Linked DNA regions of Homo sapiens: region 1 is linked to region 2. The links are contacts of gene promoters, found by promoter capture Hi-C in blood cells and fetal thymus (Javierre and others, 2016). All regions are on one chromosome and are shown on one strand. Each heading gives the region's core, a stretch centred on a gene start or on the middle of the fragment in contact. The rest is flanking DNA. Distances are from core to core; before and after follow the strand shown. Region 1 overlaps JPH3 (junctophilin 3). Region 2 holds the start of FOXL1 (forkhead box L1).

Region 1 (3,990 bases), core at 49-2,548, 1.0 Mb before region 2:
CAAAATTAGCCGGGCATGGTGGCGCATGCCTATAATCCCAGCTACTTCGGAGGCTGAGGCAGGAGAATCCCTTGAACCCGAGAGGTGGAGGTTGCAGTGAGCCAAGATCACGCTACTGCACTCCAGCCTGGGCAACAAGAGTGAAACTCTGTCTCAAAAAATAAAATGAAATAAATAAAAACTAAAAAAAGCTGTGGGGTATGTGTTCAACAGCTCTTCTCAGAGAGTTGGGCCCAGAGCGACCCAGCCAGGCCACCCCACAATCTCCACCCAGGAGGAAACGAAAGGACGCAAATGGTCACAGCAGCACGACTCAGGATAGCCCCCAGGTGGAAACAGCCCAAAAGTGACCCAGGGCTGGCAAACAGCCCAAACCTCTGCCAGCTTTAGGCTGTTTCCACCCATGAGCCATCCTGAGTGGTGGCAGATTCACACAAAACGCGGTGCCCCGCAGTGGAATATTACTCAGCGATACGAAGAAGTGGACTCATGCAGCTCCCACGCGGGTGAACCCTGAAAACAACGCTGGGCAACAGAAGCGACACACAAAAGGCCTCTCAGCGTATGACTCCACGCATGCGAAACGTCAGGAGCAGCAAACCCACAAAGACAGAAAATGGAGTCTCGGTCACCAGGGGTGGGGAGCCGTGGGAATGGGGAAGGGGTAGCTAGCTAGAGGGTTTCTTCTTGAGACGATGAAAATGTTCTAAAATTGATTATGGTGAGAGTGACACAACTCTGAATATTCTAGAAACCACTGGACTGTACAGTTTAAATGGGTGAATTGTACGGTGTGTGAAACATATGTCAGCAAAGCTGTATTTTTTAAAAGCCAGACTTACTGGAGCCCTTTTTCTGCAATCAGGGAATGAGGGGGACCCTCCATTTGGGGAGTGACAGCGACAACCTGGCCTCTGGAGGCTGCCCCAGCCTCAGCCCTGGGGAGGGCCGCACAGTTACCCTGTCCCCTCCCAGCTGACAGGGACACACCTAGACTTCTGGGCAACGCCAAGGCCATGTTTAATGGCAACACCCTCCATTCCCATTATGGGGGCTCCATGGTGGCTCTCAAAGGAGGAGGATCTTCCAGAAAGCTTGCTCTGCGGCCTCGGGGGACCCCACAGCTGGGCATGTGGTCCCCAGGGAGGACCCCACAGTTTTCAAGCTTTGCCCCTAAACCTCCAAAGACACCCCAAAATCTGCCCAGAGGGTCCTTGTGGCCCATGCGTTGTGGGGGAGTGTTCGGGCCAGGACCAGTGCAGGACTCAGAGATGGGGCCTCAGATTTCAGGCACCACTTTGGCTCCGAAGGAGGAGAGTGAGGTGAGGGGGTCCGGAACTCGGGGTCTGCAGCTCCCAAGGGGTTCACAGAAGGAAATAGAGGTTGTTTTGTTGGGGAATGAAATTGCATCCTTATTTTCACTAAGCTTTACTTGAAATTTAACATTTCCTTAAACTAGAAGATGCCTCAAGCCCACAGTGGTACTGGCCACATCGGTGACTCTGTCACTCATGGAAACGGCATGTCCCCCACACAGCGGGAGCAAACATCCCAGGATAGGGTTACCCCAGGTCCTGCCCTGGCTGGGGAGCCCCCCATGAGCCTCACGCCCACCCTGCTGGACATCAGAGCAGCCAGCCAGGGAGGAATGAGCCAAGGACATCAGTGTCCACCCTCGCCTGCCCCTGCAGCCCTCTATGGATACTGGCTCCGAGTGTCAGCCAGGCCTTGGGGGAGGGATGCTCAAAGCAAGGAAGGTGCTGAGGTCCTTGCAGGACCACACAGCTCCCAGGAGACCAGGACGAGAGCTTGGCCCACGCTGGAACCCAGGCTGGCTGGGCAGTATCCGGGGTGGGCAGAGTGGACTCCTCCATTGAGGCCCCCACTGCTGCCTCAGAATCTGTGGGGCTGGCCTGGGAGGGGCCTGGACACTCCTGTGGCTCCCCTGCCCACAGCCGACCTCCACCAGGTCCCCCTCTGAACTTACCCCCCTGTGGGACCCAGGTAGTAGCGGCCATCGCAGAGAAGGCAAGTCCTCTGAGACCCTGGGACCCCAGGGCCCTCTCATACCCCCAATGCCTTGCCAGCCCTGGAAGGGTGACCAGAGGCTGAGTTGGGGCAGGGCACTGGCTACACCACCTCCCCAGCCCCCCAGCCCCAGCCCACGCTCCCCATCCACTCCAGGTTTAGAGCAGGACCAGGCCTCTCAGCGGCAGGGTGGGGCGGGGGGGGGTCTGATTTATCAGGAGGAGACCCTGACCATCTCTGGGGCTCCCCCAGACCCCATGCACCCTCAGCTCCTCCTGCAGGTCCCAGCCCTCAGTTCCTCATGGAACTTCTTCTGAGCCCGCCTCTGGCAGACTTCCATCCCAGCCACAGCCTCGCAGAAGGGAGAGCTCTCCTCCTACCCCAGCCACAGCCTCACAGAGGGGAGCTCTACTTCCCGGCCCTGCCACAGCTGCTGCTTCACAGGAAGGAGAGGCTGCCTGCACGCCCCTCTGCAGCCAAGGGCCACAGCACCTGGTAGTCACTGAGAAATGGGAACACAGCTGGAGACACCCTCCCACCGCCAAAGGTCAGCAGCACCCGTTCTCACTCCAGCCACTCTCTGTCCTTGCTCACGGAGGCTTGGGTGCCCCCTGGGAAGCTGACCTCAGACCCAAGCCCAGGAGGAGAGGAGGAAATGGCTGGGCTTTCTGGAAACTTCCCCTGAGCCATCACCCAAGAGTCCTGGAGACGCAGGGACGCACAGGACCAGCTGAGGCCTCGGAAGGCAGGCAGCTCTGGGGCAGACGGCGGCAGAGAGGTAGCTTGTGGGGTGGCATGCGGCTGGCTCTGAGGCATCCCCTCCACCCCAAAGGGGCCCCCCCCTGACACCTGGAGCTCCTGCCAGGCTGCGTCGTTCTTCTGTTGGATATAAACCATCTCCCAGAACACCCCAGTGACCCCAGACAAGGTCACTCTGAGATCACAGTAGAGTGAGATAGAAACAGGTCACTGTGCCACCCACGATCACCAACCATCCCCCCTCTCGACTAAGGGGAGGGGCGGCTGCTTCTTGACCCATCTCCGCATTATTTTGGTGCAGGTCTCCCATGTCTACAGGCGACAGTGACCAACGCACCCACAGGAGAATCGCCCCCTTTCCAACAGCACTTGGTCTAGTGAGCCCTACGTCCCTAGACTGTCCCCTCCCCACCACCCACCCAAACCCCAAACCCTAGTGGGGCTCTTCCCAACACCCTCTTGCCCCGTGGTTCCTGGGGGAGTGTCCACCCTCATTGCAGGGAGGAATAAACCCGGCCCTTCAACCGGAGCCTTCCGGGGGCTTGGCTGCCTGCATCCACCGTCTGAGACAGTCCCGGGTGTTTGCACAGCAATTGCTCCTGGCTGGCGGCTGTAGGTGGGTGTGTTTCTCTCAGAGGAGAATCACGAGGGGAAGCCCTGGGGCCTGGGGGGTTGGCCAACGCTCCTGAGAGCAAGAAGGCACTGGTGGGGATTCAGAAGCCCCCAGGCCCAGTCCTGTGGCCTTGGATTCACAGGGCTCAGAACCAGGCCCAGACCACCCTGAAGCCCCTTGCGCAGCCGCGGATCCCAGGTCTGGGCTGTTCCTGTCCCGAACCCCCTCCCCCGGACTCCGTCTATAGGATTTTGGAGTGGCCACCTCCTCCTGCCAGCAGCCCCTCCCGACACAGAGCAGATGGGGGCACTGGCCCTGGCACTCTGGGCCAAGTCGGGTCCAGCTGCCAGGGCGAGAAGTTAGCTGCTGACCCCTGCGCTCCAGGGGACCAGTTTCTTTTTCTTTTTCCTTTTGAGACAGAGTCTCGCTCTGTTGCCCAGGCTGGAGTGCAGTGGCACGATTTCGGCTCACTGCAACCTCCGCCTCCCGGGCTCAAGCAATTCTCCTGTCTCAGCCTCCTGAGTAGCTGGGACTACAGGCGCCCGCCACCATGCCTGGCTGATTTTTGTATTTTTTGGTAGAGATGGGGT
Region 2 (3,546 bases), core at 294-2,793:
GGTGGGCGGCTGAAGACCACACTCCATTAGACAGGTCAAACGTCAAGGAATCTCCCGCGGTGGAGGTCCCTGCAGGGCCCACGTGCGGTGCCCACGACCCCGCGGGGATCTTTTAAGTCTCCGTAGCTGCTCCCAGTTGCTGGGAAAAGTTTGCTTCGGAGAAGGCAGGCGAGCGCGCCCACCTGCGCGCAATGGTTGGTAACACTTCCCTGAACCCACAGGCCGACCCAGGCAAAGATCATTTTAAAATCCTCCGCCGGTGGGAGCTGTGGCCTTTCGCTCAGCGGAGGCTCAGGCTGGGCCGGGAGAAGAACCGTGCCATTGTTTGCTTTACTGGAAGTGGAGTACCGTGTCGGGAACCTGCAGGGGGAAATAAGAGAGGAAGGGGATCCCGAGCTGGTAAAAGCCGCCCTGGACATGCGGGTCGAGCATCAGGGAAGCGTTGAAAGGCGGACGGAGGCTGGAGGAGGCGGCCAGGAGCGAGGCACCCAGACGGCCGCCGGGCCCAGGCTTGGCACCCCCTAGGAGTTCGTCCCCTGAAGGCGGCTTCTGGCCCTGCTTTCCCGCCAGGATGCTGTCTATGCTGAAGCTCTTGGACTTGTCGGAGCTCTTCGGAGAGCTGCGGGAGGCGGGGCGCAGAGGGGACCCCGGGCCGTCCCCTGTGCGCGCTGCCTGGCCGACCGCCACGGCCGCTGCGCCCTGGGCAGCGTCACCAGCGTCCTCGTTCGGGGACGCGGTCCCCGGCCAGTGGAGGGGCGCCGGCGGAGAGGGGCCGTCCAGGAGGGGCGAGGGGCCCGCGGGCGCTGCCTGCAGGCGGGAGATTGCGGGGCCCGAGCCCCCTGCCCCGCTCCCCGCCTCCGGCTGCGCCTCCGCGCTGCGCTGGTGCGTCTCGGCGCGGGGCCTCTTGGCCTCCGGGGCCCCGGGGCCCGGCTTGGGCTTCCTCTTCCGGCGCCGGTAGTTGCCGTTCTCAAACATGTCCAGGCAGCGGGGGTCCAGCGTCCAGTAGCTGCCCTTGCCCGGCCGCCCTTTCTCGCGGGGCACCTTGACGAAGCAGTCGTTGAGCGAGAGGTTGTGGCGGATGCTGTTCTGCCAGCCCTGCCGGTTGTCGTGGTAGAAGGGGAAGCGGTCCATGATGAACTGGTAGATGCCGTTGAGCGTGACCCTCTGCTCGGGCGCGTCCTGGATCGCCATGGCGATGAGCGCGATGTAGCTGTAGGGAGGCTTCTGCGGGGTCTCGGCCCGGCCCGAGGCAGCTAGAGCAGCCGCGGGGGCGAAGGCCAGAGGGAGGCCGGGTCTCTCGGGACCGTACAGATACAGCATGGGCGAGGCGGCCAGGGCAGGCAGCCGGGGATCGAAGAGGTGACTCATGGCAAGCGAGAGCCTGCGCTGCGCTCCCCGCAACGCAGGAGACCCGGGCGGCCTAGGCACTGCGCCCCGCGCCGCAAGGGCCCTCCCGGGGAGCCAGCCGTGCCTCTGCCTCTGGCTCTGCCGCTCTCCCCGGCCGCTCCGTGCTCTGTCCCTTCTTCATGGCTTTAAAAATGTTAAATAATTGTTGTAAGTTTGCTGTTATATGTTGACTTAGCCCTGGAAAATAAATTGTCTATGATAAACAGTCCTTGTGTTCTCAGCCCACCCACATTAATTAAAATTTCATTGCTGAAAAACTCCAAGCTTTTCCCTCCACGTGTCTTTTTGATACCAGCCAATCGGTTTTGGGGCTATTCCTTCATTTGTTTATAGAATTAGTCTGTTGATAAGTCCGCCCACCCAAGTTGAATCAAGCTGTGTTTATTTGGAAAAATTTCCGGGCACCCAATATATAAACGCACTGATCTGATGTTTGAAATATCACGTCCACCCCTTGACGCTGTAAGCACACACAGTCAGTGAGGCAGGATGTAGACTGCGGTGGCTCAGAGCAGGGTCTGCTGAGCCAGGAAGGAGAGGTGGAGATGGGGGTGGGTGTGCAGGGATGAGTTTTACGCTGGCCTGGGGGAGCCCCATAACGCCAGGGCCTCCCACAAAAGGTCTTTTCTTCTCCCAGGCTTAACCGGAGATATCGAGATGCCACAGTCTAGTAAAACACTTTCTGAGGTCCTAGGAACCTTTTAGATTGGGGCAGGGAGAGTATCTAAGAAGCCTGAGTGTCTGCTGAGAAGGGGATGCGGCCCTCCCTGGAAAAACAGGTGGCAGACCCAGTAGGAGGTGGCACTCTCTAGGGACCTGCTCTCCCACACCCTCCCTTCCAGGGCTCTCCGGAAATCGGAGGGAAAGTGGACTCTGGGAGCCCAGTCTCTCTGGAAGGGAAGGCCTAAGGCACTGGGGGCCTGGGGAAGAGCTCATGGTCCACAGCTCCATTGAGGAAGGTTTCAAAATAAACCCATTTAGAGAACCGGGGGCAAAAGTAAGGTCCTCCTGATGGGGCCAAGGTTGCAAGAGAGGAACACCATAAAAGGAGGCCGTGGCAGCTGGCGCGGGAGGCCTGGTATTTGTGAATGTGGGTCTCCAGCTTTATATTCTGGGCTTTCCTGTTTATAACAAGGAGGGGGTTATAACAACTTTACAAGTGCATGCAGCTGGCCCGTGATTACATTAGGCATTTGGGAAGCCTGCTTGCTCTCCCTGTATCCACCCACCCTGGGGTGTACGCGGCCCTCCACCCCCATCTCATTTTACATTTTCCCACATCACTGTTTGAATAAAAAATCCTGAATCATGCTGATTTCGAAGGGGGCCTCTCCTCCCCACTCCACCGGTTAGGGTAAGGGTAGAGGCACCTAGTGTGACTACTTCCTGTTTATGACCACCCCCTGAATATTAAAACACACACACACTGTCACACACACACCCACACACACACACACACATTCGGATAACTGGCGTCTCATTGAGCAAATCGTGTGAGCATGTCAAAGAGATGAGGGAAGGGGGAGGATGGCAGGTGGGTGTAGAAATGGCCCACTGCCAGTGGGCCAGGAAGGAGGGAGAGGCACCGAGGGCACTTACAGGGGTAGGGGGAGTGTCTGCCGCTGCCACACCCGGCTGAGGATGTGAGTGCCCAGGTAGCCTCTGAACACGGAAACGTGGCGGGCATCCTTTTTCAAAATGAGAAAATCAGAAATAACCCGTGTGTTTGGGGTTCCTGGGTATCCAGCCCATGGAATAAGTAGACCGCAGGGGAGCGGGTAAATTTAAAATACCAAAAAGGAAGTCGCAGGAAGGGTGGAAAAACCGGCCTGGGTACCGGCACTGCCTGCGGGAGCGACAGGCCAGTCCCTGGGACACCTCGGGCCTCCCTCCGCGGCCCTGCTCCTCTAACGTGGGTCCAGCGAGCAGCCCGGCCGCGCCCGCCTAGGTCCTGGGGGTGAACCTCTGGCCAGGAGGGGCGAGGCTTTGTCTTTTCGTTACCACTCGCTCTCACCCGCGTACCCCTTTCAAACTTGGGGTGAAGAAACCTCAATGCCAGCGCCTTTGCAACCCGCAGGCCCCACAGTCTCTGGGGTCACCCAACCTCTCCGGGGCCGCGCGCCCCCAGCAAGCTCAAGT

The links. The method cuts DNA at HindIII sites, captures the fragments that hold promoters and counts their contacts. A CHiCAGO score of 5 or more calls a contact.
Region 1: a fragment that was not itself captured here is called in contact with the fragment with the promoter of FOXL1 in region 2 in 1 of 17 cell types (total CD8 T cells); the score reaches 5.3 in total CD8 T cells.

What each region holds. Positions count from the first base shown.
Region 1 is chr16:87,620,982-87,624,971 of GRCh38, reverse strand. All of the region lies in intron 1 of JPH3 (junctophilin 3), which reads right to left. Among named protein-coding and RNA genes, the nearest start is that of JPH3, 20 kb to the right of the region's middle. RefSeq lists an enhancer at 3,833-3,990. The HindIII fragment of the contact is 261 bases long and covers 1,168-1,428 here.
Region 2 is chr16:86,576,546-86,580,091 of GRCh38, reverse strand. FOXL1 (forkhead box L1) reads right to left here and starts at 1,543. Exons shown (of 1, transcript NM_005250.3): 1 at 1-1,543. The coding sequence starts at 1,368. The coding sequence ends at 331. RefSeq lists an enhancer at 62-683. The HindIII fragment of the contact is 3,987 bases long and covers 1-1,673 here.